Regions from separate parts of the Homo sapiens genome. Here region 2 is linked to region 1. Evidence: promoter capture Hi-C in 16 types of primary human blood cells and fetal thymus (Javierre and others, 2016). All regions are on one chromosome and are shown on one strand. Each heading gives the region's core, a stretch centred on a gene start or on the middle of the fragment in contact. The rest is flanking DNA. Distances are from core to core; before and after follow the strand shown. Region 1 holds the start of CLLU1 (chronic lymphocytic leukemia up-regulated 1). Region 2 overlaps BTG1-DT (BTG1 divergent transcript).

Region 1 (3,997 bases), core at 130-2,629:
ATGTCAAAGTCTCGTTTACAAAGAAAAAAACAAATCTGGAACCTGAAGTCAAACGAGTTCAAAATAAAAAGCAAACCAATAAACAGAAACCAACATAAACAGAAGTTACTACCATCTCCCTCAGCCTGTGAAATTCTGGAACTTCTCTTTCTTTCTCGCCTTCTTCTTCTCTCACCTGGAAGACGAGCAGAGTGAACACATCAGGGGTTGTCAGTTCCCCAGATGGCACCACATTCATAAACCACCGACTCCAGGAGAATGTAGGAAGCTTAGTTAAGGCCAAAGTTCTCTTTGGATCTTCCTCATGGGCTTCAAGGCAAAAGAAAAAAAAGTTTGCTTGAGAATATCTTCATATCTATTAGTTTGAACCATGCAAAATTACAGTTTTTATAGGTAAAATGAGTGCATATTGGCAATTTCAAATGATTAACCCTAATACATTATGCTTTTGGGTATAGAAATATTCAGATCTTAAACATATGCTGTTACATACAAAATCAGGTATATTCCTGCTTCTATAATTAAAGCAAAGAGAATTTCTTTTGGTCACTACTCCTTCTGACATGAGGTATGAACCAAGTTCAGGACCCCTAAAGGTCTGGGTCTGGGTCATTTCTCCACCTCTAACTTGTGCCGCTTTCTTGGTCAGTCATTGTGTTCTGAGCTGTCTCATAAAACATCTGCTATGACTTTACTTTCTCCTGATAGGGTGGCTTTCCATCGTTGGCACTTCGTTGGCCTTATTGGTATGCTTTATACACTGGTTCTCGTTTCCAAATTGGCATTATTATTGTTATGATTCCTGCTGCTCTCCCACATTTCCCATCTTTCTCCTGATCTCTCTCACCTGTACATTTCTTACATTTTCTCCTGTGCTTCCTTCTTCCCATCATCATTGCCCAAGTGTGTCTTCTTTCTTCTCCTTGTCACATTTCCTTTGCCCGCTCTCACATATGCAGAGATGGCTCTTGGTTTTCCTTCTGAAATCTCATAGTTTGGAGGTAAACTTGTTAGCAAGGCCACTGAGAAGAGAACAAAAGGGAAACATAAGAGAAACCAAGTCACTATCTCTCTCATTTCCTGGTTTCTAGAAGTAAGACCCAAAGAACTCACTGTTTCAGTGCTTTCAGCTCAGGCCAAACTAGGGTGATCAAACTGAGCTTCTGAGTGCTGATCAAAACCTATAAAACCAAGTAGACAGACCATCTACAAATCTTCACTGTTAAATACCATAAAGAATGAAAAGGTCACTAATTGGTAAGACTATATGTGTGATAATTAAATTTATGCATCAACCTGGCTAGGCTAAAGGATGACCAGGTAGCTGGTAAAACATTATTCTGGGTGTGTCCATAAGAGTGTTTTCGGAAGAGATCAGCATTTGAATTGGTGAACTTAGTAAAGCAGACGGCTCTCACCAATAAGGGCAGGCATCATCCAATCTGTCGAAAGCTTGAATAAAACAAAAAGAGGAAGGGAAAATTTGCTTCTTTTCTTCTTGATCTAGTATATCATCTTCTCCTGCCCTTGGATGTGAGTGGGCCTTCAGACTTAAACCAGGAGTTACACCTTTGGCTTCCCTGGTTCTCAGTTCTTTGGACTTGGACTGAATTACACTGCCAGGTTTCCTGGTTCTCCAGCTTGCAGATGGCAGATCATGGGACTTCTTGGCCTCCATAATTGTGTGAGTCAATTTCCATTTTATTTACATATCCAGTTATGCATTGCTTAACAATGGAGACAGGTTCTGAGAAATGCATTGTTAAGTGATTTCATCATTGTGCAAACATCATAGAGTGTAACTACACAAACCTGGACAGCATAGACTACTACACATCTAGGCTACATGGTGTAGCTTGTAACCTCATGATAAGTATGTATAACATCATGATAAGTATGTATGTATCTACCATATCTAAATGTAGAAAAGGTACAGTAAAAATATGGTATAATCTTATGGGATCACCATCATATATGCAATCCTTTGTAGACTGAAATGTCATTGTGTAGTGCATGACTGTATACGCACACATACACAAACACACACAAATATACTATTGGTTCTTTTTCTCTGAAGAGCCCTAATACAATATGTTATACATTTATATTGACTCTATTTCAAAATTTATGGTTTTGGTGAAACATATGTGGAGATGGGGCATAGGTGTGTGAACTGGGATAGTGTCCTGCTGATGAATGGGTGGGAGGCATCATTTGGGACAAGCCCAGGGCATCAGCTTATAGATATCAAGAGCTCAACAAGAGCACTTTATGGCAAAACCTCCCACAAGACCTCTCAGAAGTTGAGAAACTGCTAAAAGTTTCTTTATGACAGATGACATTTATGGATAAAATAGGGATTAGCAGGATTCTTTAAATACTTTCGAACACTAACCTTCATTTCTACCAGGCAGTGGGGCCCCAAGTGCAGGGCCATAGGAAGTACAAGTCTGGGAGATACTAGGCTGCACTGTCTGTAGAGAATCTGAAAAAATAATAGAGTCACTGAAATGCAGTTTGGTATAATTATTGCCATGCATCATAATTCTAAATCATACTAGTGGTCAAATACTCTTCCCTGAAAAAACATTTTCTTGGTTTGAATTCTAAATAATTGTTGTGGTCACCACTGAGCTTTTAAATATATAAATACTTTCAAGTTTGCATATTTTTATTACCTGTTCCTTAACAAACATTGAATTCAACATGAAAATGATTATGGGAAACATTCGGGTATACAGTCCCTGACTCTTAAGGACTCAGGTAAATACTTAGGGTATTTCATGGCCCTAGTCTTTGGGGTACCACATGTTTCTTCTTCAAATCACAGATTCAAAATCAAGAATGATAACACAGTGATTGTGTAGACAAAATAAGTGAACCAAAATTGCTTGCTTCTGTCATTCTATGGAACCACTGAGAGTTTTTACTTGTGCTTAAAATTTTGAATAGTAAAACAGAGTGTCAACTTCATGCTGGAATATTTTTGGCTTTTTAGACACAATTTTAAGTACATGAAGTATTTTTACAAGACTAAGTAACATCACTGAAATTACAGCTTTCTTCTTTTTAAAACTGGTATTTGTTATAAAACTAAAGAGCGAATCAAGAAAAGCATAATTATTACTGATTATTACAGGATTATTACTGAAAAAGAAATGTACGGAATAGAGGAGGAAGGAGTTAACAAATGATCCACTCTGGGTGTTGAAAACACCAATAAGCCTGCTTCCAGGAAGTGCCTAAGACAGAGCTGGCTCAGCTTGCTGGGTCACAGCATGTAAGGAAACTGCTGGGCTACATGCCACCATCCTCAGTTGTCCAGATAGATAATCCCATAGCCCCATGGGGAAATAATCTTTAATTATGATATAGCTGACACCATTCAAAGCACTATGCTAAGTCCTTTATGTGAATTAACTTTTGTCAAATTTATTTTTCATAAATAACCCAAATATGTATACCACTATTATCCTACCTTAAAGAGGAGAAACTGAGCTCCTAAAGTTTAAATATCTAACCCAAGTTAAGACTGCTAGTCACCCTAGGCTATTAACTCAGGCAGTCTAACTCAGGTATAATAACATTATGCTACTGTTTGCAGCTTTGACTATGCCTGAATTATAACGTCATGCTATCTAACTAAAAAGCTAAGGGAAATAAAATGAGCCATAGGGCTCAATTTCATAAAAGGAGAGAAAATACTGGGGAAAAGTGATAATGCAGAGTTTAAAATATTTTTGTAAAAGTGCCAGAGATTGAGTATAACAAGTGTGACCAAAAAAAAAAAAAAAAAAAAAAAAGGAAGAAGGTAAAAAAAAGAGGGAGGTCTGAGAAATAGAAATATCAGAGGAAGGAAATAAAGGAGGGTGAGAGTAAATTCTCTTTTAGCATTCAGATTCCACAGATTCCACAAATCACATTTCTTTTTTTACCAACTAAGGAAAAATAACACTTGACCTAACATTTCATTGCAGTTAGCTAAAGGATGCTAGAA
Region 2 (3,968 bases), core at 1,215-3,714, 240 kb before region 1:
CCACCTGGCTAATTTCTTGCTTTTTTTGGTAGAGATAGGGGCTCATTATGTTGCCCAGGCTAGTCTCGAACTCTTGGGCTCAAGCAATCCTACTGCGCTGGCCTCCCAAAGTGCTGGAATTATAGGCATTAGTCACTGTGCTCAACCTTTTCGCTAATTCTTTTTGCTTTTCCAATCTGCAGGTTTTCACTTTAGGTAGATAAGCAATAAGTGTTTTTGAACGAAGCAATTCTTTCCTTAAACATAACCCCCTTTCCAGTGCGTTTACAAGGTTCTTAACAATTATTGGCTTTATTTTGTAAGAAAATCATGACACTTGCCTATTTCTTAAGAAAAAATCAGGGATATTTGTGTAGCCATCAAAGTGAGAAAATATCCAAGTTTGAGTGAAACCAGAGTCATTAAATTGTGACTACCCAGTCCACAGGAGTTCACAGACGCAAATTACCTACTTGGATGAATCTGTCCCCAGGATAATTTTCAAAACACTGAGCTCAATTCAACCAACAAGCTAATCAGAAGAGATCCACCTTGAAAGAAAAAAGTCAGGCAGCAGCCTTCCAAGGACTTTTTTCTATAACCCTCTCAGCAAGGGAGTGAGGACCTTTTAAGAATTAAGCTTTGTAACTGCCCTATTGTTATTTGTGGACTCCCTCTGCTATTGTTTCCTCCATAGTGATTGACAGACAAACCCCTAAAATGAGAAGGATCAGTGCGTCTGTCTGTAGAGAGTGACAGCGTTGAAGCAAGACATTCAGAAGCCAGCCTGACACAAAGGGGACAAGAACAACTGCCACCCCAGCCCCCATCTCATTCCAACCCAAGAGACGGTGAGTCTGAGTCTAAAGAGAGTATGAGGGTCCAGGTGTGGTGGCTGACGCTCCTAATCCCAGCACTTTGTAAGGCAGGAGGATTATTTGAGGCCAGGAGTTTGAGATTAACCTGGGCAAAATAGTCAGACTCTGTCTCTACAGAAAAAAAAAGAAAAAAAAATTAGCCAGTGATACAGGAGTTAAGAAGAAATCATTTTGGCAGATAGTGAGAGTACGGGAGTCCCTGATAAGGTTTTCCTTTTAAAGAAAAGCAGCCCCCAGATCATTTCTTTTCTAACAAAGCAGCCTGTAAAATCGAGCTGCAGACATAGACAAGTAAGCTGATTGCACAGGTGAATGCCCTGGCAGTTGTGACAACAGGAAAAGGCTACCTGGGACTACGCATGATCAACATGGCGGCTCCATCTTTCCTTCTCTTTGCTAGCCACATGTGCAGTAAGGAGCAGATGAGATGGTGCTGGCTAAGCGGAAAGCCCATTTACATAATAAGATTAGGGTGGGGCGACCAGCCTTCCCTGCGCTATGTAAGGGACACCCCTGGTCAAACCAATCCATGGGCCCTACGTAAATCCGATACTGCCTCCTCAAGCCTGCCTATAAAATGTGCTGTGGTCTGCCATAGGCCAGCTTTTCCCTTTCGGATGCCCCTCTGTCGAGAGAGAGAGGGAGAGAGGGAGAACCACAACGCTACTTTTCTCTCTCCTCTCTCCTTTCTTCTGCCTATTAAACTTTCCGCTCCTTAACCCACCCACGTGTGTCCATGTCCTTAATCTTCTTGGCAAACCGCGGGTACCTACGCCCAGACTATGACGTCGCTTCATTAGGTGTGGTGAGAGGTGCCTGTAGTTCTAGCTACTCAGGAGGCTGAGGCAGGAAGATCCCTGAGCCCAGGAGTTTGAGGCTGCAGTGATCTATGATCACGTCAGTGCACCCCAACCTGGGTAACAGAGAGAGACCTTGTCCTCACAAACAAACAAACAAAAGGAATAAAGAGAATGGAGGAATAGATTTGGCTCTTGAGGGAAGGGAGGCTGAGGAAGGGAAATGTGAATTCATTTGTACATATACAAATCCATTTGCATGTATACGTACTTTGGGAAGTAGGGTACATATCTTCTATTGTATTTTTAAACTTTTAATTTTTTGTACTTTTTTCACTTTTATTTTACTTTGAACCCTGAGAAGCTACATATTTTAAAGAATTTTAAAGATGGCCTTGTCTGAAAGTTGGACAGGTAAAATGACTTTGAAGAAACAGTTGGAGGCCCAGCACAGTGGGCACACCTATAATGCTAATATAGTATTTGTTGGGAAGCCAAGTCATGAGGATTGTTTGAGGCCAAGAGTTCAAGACCAGCCTGGGCAACATAGTAAGACCCTATCTCTATTTTTTTTTTCTTCGAGATGGGGTCTCACTCTGTCACCCAGGCTGGAGTGCAGGGGCGCTATCTCAGCTCACTGCAACCTCTACCTCCTGGTTTCAAGCTATTCTCCTGTCTCAGCCTCCCGAGTAGCTAAGAATACAGGTGCCCCACCACCACACATGGCCAAGTTTTGTGTTTTTAGTAGAAATGGGGTTTCACCATGTCGGCCAGGCTGGTCTGCCCACCTTGGCCTCCCAAAATGTTGGGATTACAGGTGTGAGCCACTGCACCCAGATCCTATCTCTGTTTTAAAATAGAAAAAGAAATAGTTGGAAAAAACTTGCTTCTTTTTCTAAGCAATAAGATGTCATGGTAGCATATTTTTTTCATGACAATCCTATTGGTTCCTTACCATTTCCTAATTCTTAAAGGAATAAAACATTAAATTTTAAATAAATAAACTTTTTGAAGTACATTGAAAATCTTTCTGTTCTCTTTGCTTATTCAGACTCATTTTATATAGCAAAGGGAAATAAGAAGATAATGAAAAATTTACCTACTTTACACTTTCACTCATGGTCAAGACCCCTCTGTTTACCTATGTCAGATTAATAATTGCTCCTTAGTAAATACCAAGGCCTTCTGAAAACAAAGACATCCTCAATACAGCTTCAGAGCCTGGCTCTGGGGTGAAGCAGCTTTAGAACATACCAACAGTATTTGTTGTAGAAATATAATAGAATCCTTGTGACATACTTTGCTCATGTGCTTTTCTGTCTGAGGACAAAACCTCTATCACAGAAAACATAACACCTACACTCACCAAGAATCTAGGTGTGATGGGAGGGGAGGTGGAGGTGAACTTCACAAAGTCTAGAGATCACCCATTTCACACATTCCAAGAGCTGAAAATAAGTGTTCTTGCACCTCCAAAGTTATTCTCACAAAACGAGGTGCAATGATAAGTTAACATCTAGGTTTCAGTTACCACTTAGCTGCAGGGGAGTTTTAGAAATTATTACACTGATGAAATTAGATTTAATAAAATATTTCTTTTAAAAAGAAGCCTTAAAGAGAGCCTATATATTGCCATGTGTCATGGCAACCTGTGATCAATTAAGCAAATAACTTAGAGATCAGTGACCTTTTGTTCCAGTGAATTGGTAATCATAAATGTATATACATTTTGCAATACAGTCTCCTCTTTTAAAATATATGCATTTTTTCATAAGCAGAAGACTCAAATGTTCTTTTTTTAATGCAATGCTACAGTGCAGGATTTTAATCTGTTATGCATTGATATCCATGTGTCTGAAATGCTGGATGCAACTCTATTTGAAGCAAGGCGTTGGGCACTCAAGAGACCATCTTCTGTTTAATCTAGAGGGTGAGAATGGCCTGTCCAACCAAGTCTGTGTCCTTCTTTCTCCCTTATACTTTCATTTTGCTCCTGTACCTTTGAATAGATGCGTAAAGAACTTGTGAGAACTATAAGTTTTATCTGCTTCAGCAAGTTCTCCCTATGCAGGGCATGGTGGCTCACACCTGTAATCCCAACACTTTGAGAGGCTGAGGCTGGTGGATCCCTTGAGCTCAGGAGTTTGAGACCAGCCTGGACAACATGACAAAATCATGTTTCTACACAAAATACAAAAATTAGCAGGACATGGTGATGCGTGCCTGTAGTCCCAGCTACTCAGGAGGCTGAGGTGGGAGGATCAATTGAGCCCTGGAGGAAGAGGTTGCAGTGAGCCCAGATGCTGCCACTGTA

Evidence for each region. The method cuts DNA at HindIII sites, captures the fragments that hold promoters and counts their contacts. A CHiCAGO score of 5 or more calls a contact.
Region 2: a contact is called between a fragment that was not itself captured here and the fragment with the promoter of CLLU1 in region 1, in 2 of 17 cell types (naive B cells and total B cells). The highest score is 5.3, in naive B cells.

Annotation. Positions count from the first base shown.
Region 1 is chr12:92,420,152-92,424,148 of GRCh38, forward strand. It overlaps CLLU1 (chronic lymphocytic leukemia up-regulated 1), which reads left to right and starts at 1,380. Exons shown (of 2, transcript NR_027933.1): 1 at 1,380-1,684. It overlaps CLLU1-AS1 (CLLU1 antisense RNA 1), which reads right to left. Exons shown (of 3, transcript NR_144319.2): 2 at 863-1,022; 3 at 1-309. The HindIII fragment of the contact is 1,184 bases long and covers 267-1,450 here.
Region 2 is chr12:92,175,496-92,179,463 of GRCh38, forward strand. The region is part of intron 2 of BTG1-DT (BTG1 divergent transcript); the gene reads left to right. Among named protein-coding and RNA genes, the nearest start is that of BTG1-DT, 31 kb to the left of the region's middle. The HindIII fragment of the contact is 3,695 bases long and covers 618-3,968 here.